Linked DNA regions of Homo sapiens: region 2 is linked to region 1. The links are contacts of gene promoters, found by promoter capture Hi-C in blood cells and fetal thymus (Javierre and others, 2016). All regions are on one chromosome and are shown on one strand. Each heading gives the region's core, a stretch centred on a gene start or on the middle of the fragment in contact. The rest is flanking DNA. Distances are from core to core; before and after follow the strand shown.

Evidence for each region. The method cuts DNA at HindIII sites, captures the fragments that hold promoters and counts their contacts. A CHiCAGO score of 5 or more calls a contact.
Region 2: a contact is called between a fragment that was not itself captured here and the fragment with the promoter of ZSCAN10 in region 1, in 1 of 17 cell types (naive CD8 T cells). The highest score is 5.6, in naive CD8 T cells.

Annotation. Positions count from the first base shown.
Region 1 is chr16:3,097,265-3,101,216 of GRCh38, reverse strand. ZSCAN10 (zinc finger and SCAN domain containing 10) reads left to right here and starts at 1,923. Exons shown (of 6, transcript NM_032805.3): 1 at 1,923-2,027. RefSeq lists a silencer at 901-960 and an enhancer at 1,121-1,170. The HindIII fragment of the contact is 16,276 bases long and covers 1-2,912 here.
Region 2 is chr16:3,445,452-3,449,420 of GRCh38, reverse strand. NAA60 (N-alpha-acetyltransferase 60, NatF catalytic subunit) reads right to left here. Exons shown (of 8, transcript NM_001083601.3): 2 at 881-950. Among named protein-coding and RNA genes, the nearest start is that of NAA60, 3.8 kb to the right of the region's middle. The HindIII fragment of the contact is 4,492 bases long and covers 1-3,538 here.

The DNA.
Region 1 (3,952 bases), core at 674-3,173:
CCTGGCAGCCCGAACGCCAACAAACACCCAGTGTCTTTCTGAAGCGACCATAAGCCATTCGAGGAAACACGCACGGGGTCCTGCTTGTCCTGGCCTTGTCCCCAATGCCCAGGGCAGTGAGAGCAGCTCTACACGGAGGCCAGTCCCTGAGGCTTCCTCGGTGGCCTCAGACCTCGGAGTACACACGTGCAGTCCTTACCTCCCAAAGATAAACCTAACCTCTCACTCTGCTCTTCACCTACTTCAGACTGCTGTCCCATATATGGTCACCAGAGACATATGAGAACCACTAGAGATAGCCCCAAACTGAAAACTGCCCACGGGCTACCCATAGCAGAATGAATAACTGATGTAATGAGGAAAATCATTCAGCAACGAGAGGGAAAGAACGCTCGATGGCATGGAGTCCCAGCTGTAGTCCCAGCTCCTTGGTAGACCGAGATGGGAGGATCACTTTAACCCAGGAGTTTGAGTCCAGCCTGGGAGATATGGCAAGACCTTGTCTCTAATAAAATAAAATAAGTGGAATTGGGAAAATTACAATTTTAAAAGAAACAAAAATTTTTAGTAGAGATGGGGTTTCACCATGTTGTCCAGGCTAGTCTTGAACTCCTGACCTCAGGTGATTAAAGAGGCTGAGTGCGGTGGCTCATGCCTGTAATCCCAGCACTTTGGGAGGCCAAGGCAGGTGGATCACCTGAGTTCAGGAGTTCAAGACTAGCCTGGCCAAAATGATGAAACCCCATCTCTACAAAAAAAAAAAAAAAAAAAAAAATGAACCGGGCATGATGAGACAGGCCCCACGCCTCTCGCTTCCGAGACTGTAATGGCTGCCTGGTCCCGCCAAGGCCACACCCGCTCCGGCGCTACAGCACCCCGCCCCGCCCCGGACACGCCCCCTCCGTCCCTACAGAACCCCGCCCCGCCCCTTGGCCTTCAGGCCCACTTCCCTGGGGGCGGGGTTTTCTGGCCCCGCCCCTGAACAAACTATGGAGTGGGAGGAGCCCGCGACTGGGAGAGCGAGGCGCGGGACGCGGGGAATGCAGAGCAGACCAAGGAGAAAGACCGTCGTACGAAGGGAGCACTAGACAACTGAAGTAGGAACAGGATGAGCTCAGGTGTTAAGTGCAGGAAAACAAAGACCCGTCAGATGAGCCAGTCAGGAGGGTCCTGGCCCCAACGGACCGAGGGGTCTAGGCCGGGGGAACGGCCAACACCTGAGAGGTGGTCCTGGCTCCCCGGGGGCTCAGAACGCTCAGGAAGGCACCAGCTGCAGCCAAGGGCACAACCCAAGAAGGCACCTTAAGCACAGGGATGGAATTAGTTTGGGGCCAAACGCTGTTGGTTAGGTCACTTCCCTCCCGGGGAGCCCTTGCTTCGTCATCGGTAAAGTTGGGACAAAAGCCACCTGGCAGGACTTGGGAGGACTTTAGGTGACCGTGTAGATGGAGCAAACTCTGCCCCATCACATCCTCCTCTTCCATTTTTTCCTAGCACCGTCGCTGCTCCTTTGCCCTAGAATGTAAGCCCCTGAGAGCAGGGCCTCATTCCTTCAGTTTCTCTCTGTGTCCTTAGCCCCTGCTTTGTAACAGTGCCTGGCACACAGGAGGCCATTGCAAAGAGTAGTCACGTGAATGAAAAGCCTAGCAAAGAAGCCAGCACACTGTGGGCATTTAAAAATGGCAGCTCTTAGCCCAAAGGAAAGACGGGCAGACCTGCAAGGGGCACCAGGCCAGTCTTGATTTGGGAGGTGGTTACACTCTCACACAGGCTGGGATTGAAATCTGGATTTCTCACTTTGTCTTCATGTCACTGGCCCCGCCCTCTTCCCATCCCGCTCCCAAACTGGGAGCTTAAGGGTTAACTCTAGGAAGCCCCTCATCACCTGGATGGGATGGGACTGGGGCAAGGAACTTCCTGTTCCATTTTCCCAGAGCCCTTCCCCAGGCTGGCGGAGGCTGGCTTTGGCCCTGGAGTCCTCAGAAAACCCCCCAGCATCTCTGCCTGTGTAGTGGGGACTCCGAGTGGTGAGTTGGAGGGAGGTCGGGGTGCAGGCTGCCAGGACGGGTGCTAGGAGCTCGCAGCAGCTTGGAGAGAGCAGGGGAGGCTCCAGGCCTTGGTGCTGGGGTGGGGGCTGGAAGAGTCTTGGGAGGATGTAGAGGGTCTGCTGGGGAGCCTCGTGCCAGCCAGCTTGGTGGACCTGTCGCGATGGGGGCGTTGGGGACGAGGGAGATCGCAGAACTTCCTGTGACATTGAAGAAGGCTGGCTTCACGTGCTCCCAGGTGGACTGATGGGCCTTGTCCACTCAGCCCAGCACGCGGAGGGAGGCCCCTCCAACAAACAACAAATCAGGCAGCTGCCAACTGTGTCCAGGGAGAAAGGGAGTGTTCCCGGCTGAGGACCCCACCTTTGCCGCCTTCCCCAACTCTGGGCTCTCAGGTGACCTGGGTGGGTCTCGTGGCAGCACCTCCACCCCGGGCTCCAAATTAAGCTGCTCAAATGTTGGATGGTGGCTGTAGAGCCTCTGCCTGCCTCCCTACCCAGCCCACCCCCAACAGAGGTGCATATTAACAGAGCTTTTGTCCTGGAGATCTGGGGGGAGGGAGAGATTCTCTGAAGCCAACTTGTCTCGAATTCCACCTCTTTGAAACCTTTTGGAGAGATCTCACCTGGAGATTCCGGCCTCCCTGTGTGGCTTGCCCTGAGAGCTGAAATTTGGAATCTTCATTTTTTTTCTGTTTCATGCTGTGATATTTCGGCTAAGGCTAGGAAAATGGCACAGAGCAGGATGGAGATCAGTTCCTTTTCTGTTTCAGAGCTTTGGCACTGTGTTCTAGACCTACACTCTCAGCCTAAAGCAAACCTTGGCTCCACCTGGTGTGACCCTGAGCATGTCACCAAGTGCAAAGCTTGGTCTTTGCACTTGGCAAAGGGAGAAGTGATTGTTTCGTGCGTGGGCTGGACTGGGATGAAATGAGCTTAATCGCCAGACACTCAGTACCTGCCCGCTGCTCCTGCACGGCAATGGATGAGCAGTGATTAGTTTTCTTGTTATTTTGTGCATGCTACTAAAAACCAGTGAAACGTAATCCCATTTTCTTCCCCCTCCCCCACTCTTTTTTTTTCTTTTCTTTTCTTTTCTTTCTTTCTTTCTTTTTTTTTTTTTTTTTTTTGAGACAGGGTCTTCGCCTTTTATCCAGGCTGGTGTGCAGTGGCGCGAACATGGCTCACTGCAGCTTTGACCCCCCAGGTTCAAGCAATCCTTCTGCCTTGGCCACCCAAAATGCTGGGATTATAAGCATGAGCCACCGCATCCGGCCTCACAACACCATTTTTCTGATCATTTATCACAGACTTTTTCTGTCCTAGACGTTGTTACATGCTTTCCTTCGAGATGGCCAGAATCACTGCCATTCCCTAATTTCTGCTAACAGACACTGAAGCAACTTCAAGTGCTGGATGAACACTCATTGAACTAGACACAGCTCCTACTCCCAGGCCAGGCAGAGAAATACGCTCATCTGTGATTGAGGCACTCCATCGCCCTAGTGGGGAGAGATGGGGTGGGAGGATGGGGGCTGCCTGGAGTGGATGCCAGAGGGCAGGAAAGCGTAGTTCCGGCTCGGGGGTGGTTACACTCTCACACATGCAGGGGTTGAAATCTGGATTTCTCACTTTGTCTTCGCTTATCTGGCCCCACCCTGTCCCCATCCACCTCCCAAACTGGGAGCTTGAGGGTTAACGCTAGGAAGCCCCTCAACACCTGGATGGGATGGGACTGGGGCAGGGAACTTCCCGTTCCATTTTGTCAGAGTCCTTCCCCAGGTGGCTGAGGTTGGGAGATGCAGGGGAGCCGGGGTAGGGGTGAGGGGCTTGGAAGATACTGTGTGTTGCAGGGAGGTTGGGAGAGATGGGTCATGTTCTAGAATCACCTCCCCTCCTTCTCAGCGG
Region 2 (3,969 bases), core at 43-2,542, 350 kb before region 1:
TCAGCCTCCCAAGTAGCTGGGACTACAGGTGCCCACCACCACGCCCAGCTAATTTTTTGTATTTTTAGTAAAGATGGGGTTTCACCGTGTTAGCCAGGATGGTCTCGATCTCCTGACCTCATGATCCACCTGCCTTGGCCTCCCAAAGTGCTGGGATTACAGACGTGAGCCACCACGCCCAGCACACCCGGCTACATTTTTGTATTTTTTAGTAGAGATGGGGTTTCAACATGTTGGGCAGGCTGGTCTCGAACTCCTGACCTCCAGAGATCTACCCGCCTCACCTCCTAAAGTGCTGGGATTACAGGCGTGAGCCACTGCGCCCAGCCCTTTGGCTCCTTCTTTATGAGTAGATAATGAAAAATAAATTTTTAACAAAAGAAATTCTCCTTTGGTATAAAATGATGCAAGTGTGTAAGACGGATCACCACAGATGATACTGCTTCCTTTGATTAGAACCAAACCAGAGGTGGCACAGGATGACCACCACGTGGCTACACAGACCAATCTCAGAGGGTCAGGGCAGCACACTGGGAGAGTCTCGTTCTCCACTAACATTGTCAGTGTGCCCTGAGACTGGGCTTACCCATCAGACTCACAAGAGACTGATGCTTAAACCAAATCTTGTTTACTTCTTTATAGTTTAAAGAGGCTGGCATACTTGTACTGTATCCCTGTGTACCTAACGTAAGAATATACTCATTTACCCTCCTAGCAAAAAAGTGAAAGCATTTGTTTCACTAGGCGCCTTCTATCATTCAGTACTAAAAATTAAGAGAATATTTAATACTTGACAGGTCAAAAATGGATTTCACTTAAGTAGGCTTCCTCTGACTATGAGGGCATCATTAATAGCAGGACACAGAGCGCTTTGACTCACTCTCTGGAGCTCTTCTCCCAACTCAGGCTGGCTCCGCACTTCCTTCCTCCAGGTACAGCCTTTCTGTATGCTGCAGGGGAGAAAGACACAAGGCCATCACTTCACTCCTGGCCATCCCATCTCTACAACTCATAGGCTAATGAGTGTCAGACAAACCCTGGATCTCAGAGTATCAATCTGATGGGCCCTTTTGGGGAAAAATTAACTATCTAAACATGTAGTTCTCTAAACTACAAAGCAACCCATGTTTTTTTTTTTTTTTTTTTTGAGACAAGGTCTTGCTCTGTCATCCAAGCTGGAGTGCAGTGGCACAATGCTAGCTCACTGCAGCCTCGAACTCCTGGACTCAAGTGATTCTCTTGCTTCAGCCTCTAAAGTAGCTGGAATTATAGGTGTGAGTGACCACGCCCAGCCTCCAACCCATCCTTTCTTCTCTGTCCTCACTGTATCTAACCTGCATTCTCTGTACCTCTTACTACCCTCCAGGAGTCTTTGGTTGCAGCTTCTAGTAACGATAATTATTCAGTATGAGTAGGTCAAGAATCTTTCTCTGGAAGCACCTCTGCCTCAGTGACTGAAAAAGAATTCTGTTGGGAGTTAACACAGACCAAGCCAGTTTTTGGTAACAGAATTAACATGTTGAAGGTACGTTTAGAGCCCTGAGCTTTTTTCTAATTAAAAGACTCCTATTAGTTTCAACTCAAGGCTAAATGAAACTAAAAAGACTCCTATCCAGCTAGAAGTTGTGCTAATTTCAAAACTGTGTGAGCCTCTTGTTCTTGCAGGCATGACTTGCAGCCATTGTCCCCTTATAAGACTGGAGACTAGGTAGCAACAGTTTTCTAACTGCTCAATCAAGCATTCTGAACACCAGTAAGAAAACCTCTTGCTGAAGTTGGGAGAAAGATAATCTTGCTTACCTAGGCCCCCTTAGTGTAGGTGAGAAGGCTCTGTGTCAGTTTCCGATCAGTATCAACTTCCCATGAAGGATACGGTAAAGGCGGTAAGAACCAGAGCCATACTTATGTTTAAGTAATAGACCTTAAAAGGCAGTACCATCTGGGAATGGAAAACACACCAAACGTAGTGAGCAATTCATTCTGGAAATCATGTTAAACATCGCCAGGGAAGATACCCCATTTACCTTGAAGTGATTACACATTGCATGCCTGCATCAAAATATTTCATGTACCACATAAATATATACACCTACTATGTACCCATAAAAATTAAAAATATAACTACCACTACCATTTTAACGCATAGTCTTCAAAAGCAACTTTGTTATTGTTTTTGTTTCATAACCAATTTTACTCCCAAAAATGAGTATCTTTCCGTTTCAATATACAGCTGCATCATCATAAAAATCACTAGGGAAAAGATATATACTTAAGAATAGGGGCCGGGGGCAGGGGCTCACGCCTGTAATCCCAGCACTTTGGGAGGCCAAGGCGGGCAGATCACAAGGTCAGGAGTTCGAGACCAGCCTGGCCAATATGGGGAAAACCCGTCCTCTACTAAAAATACAAAAATTCGCCAGGTGTGGTGGTACGCACCTATAGTCCCAGCTACTCGGGAGGCTGAGCCAGAAGAATTGCTTGAACCTGGGAGATGGAGGTTGCAGTGAGCAGGCCAGGTGCGGTGGCTCATACCTGTAATCCCAGCACTTTGGGAGGCTGACATGGGCGGATCACTTGAGGCCAGGAGTTTGAGACCAGCCTGGCCAACATGGCAAAACTGCATCTCTACTAAAAATACAAAAATTAAATGGTTGTGGTGGCATCTGCCCATCATCTCATCTACTCTGGTAGCTGAGGCACAAGAATCACTTGAACCCAGGAGGCGGAAGTTGCAGTGAGCAGAGATCGCACCACTGCTCTCCAGCCTGGGCAACAGTGAGACTGTCTCAAAAAAAAAAAAACAAATAATAAAGAGTAAATAGTGGTGATCTCTGGGTGACAGGAATGTGTTGCCATTTTTTCCCCTGTATTTTCTTTTTTTTTTTTTTTTCAGACAGAGTCTCACTCTGTCACCCAGGCTGGAGTGCAGTGGTGTGATCTCGGCTCACTGCAAGCTCCGCCTCCCAGGTTCACGCCATTCTCCTGCCTCAGCCTCCCGAGTAGCTGGGACTACAGGTGCCCGCTACCACGCCTGGCTAATTTTTTGTATTTTTAGTATAGATGGGGTTTCATCGTGTTAGCCAGGATGGTCTCGATCTCCTGACCTTGTGATCTGCCCACCTCAGCCTCACAAAATGCTGGGATTACAGGCGTGAGCCACCGCACCCAGCCTTTCCTAACTTTCTGAAATGCACATATACTACTTTTGTAATGATGTTAGTTTTACTATTTTTAAAAAGATAATTTTCAGAGAAAGCAGATGCTGGGCTATAGAAATAATTTCAATACAAACAGGTTGTAGTTGTTATTACTGGTACCATGTTAAAGACAGAAATGGAAAAACTTGCAAAAGATTGTCGTGGAAGGATTTTTAAATTTTGATGATTAAAACATGTTACTTGAACATATAGTGGGTATACAGTCAAGCATTTGTGATTTTTTACAAAATTGAGTTAGGGATATAATGTGGTCTAATTTTTCAATCTTGGTCTATCTTGGACTTTGTATGTCATCTCTTTATTTTCAGGAAGATAAAGCTTTCAAGCTTCCTCCTTCTTTGTCCACTTGTTTATAGTTTTGATGGCTCTTAGGAAAGATAGTCTAGGGAAGATTTTTTCCTCTCCCATTTCAGGTATATCCCTCTCTCTCTGGTAATCCACTGAGTTAATACCACATGCTTCATTTCAAAGCATTGGAAACTGTGTTTATTTCTTTGTAATTATGGCAACAGGATTTAAAGAAGAGAGCCACGGGAGTCTCTTGTTCTTGGTGAAAGAGCCACAAATCCAGATAAGGAGAATCTCAGACCACAATGAGACAGTGCTGATGTAAGAATAGCATTAAATAGGCGGGGCGCGGTGGCTCACGCTTGTAATCCCAGCACTTTGGGAAGCCGAGGTGGATCATGAGGTCACGAGATCGAGACCATCCTGGCCAACATGATGAAACCCCATCTCTACTAAAAATACA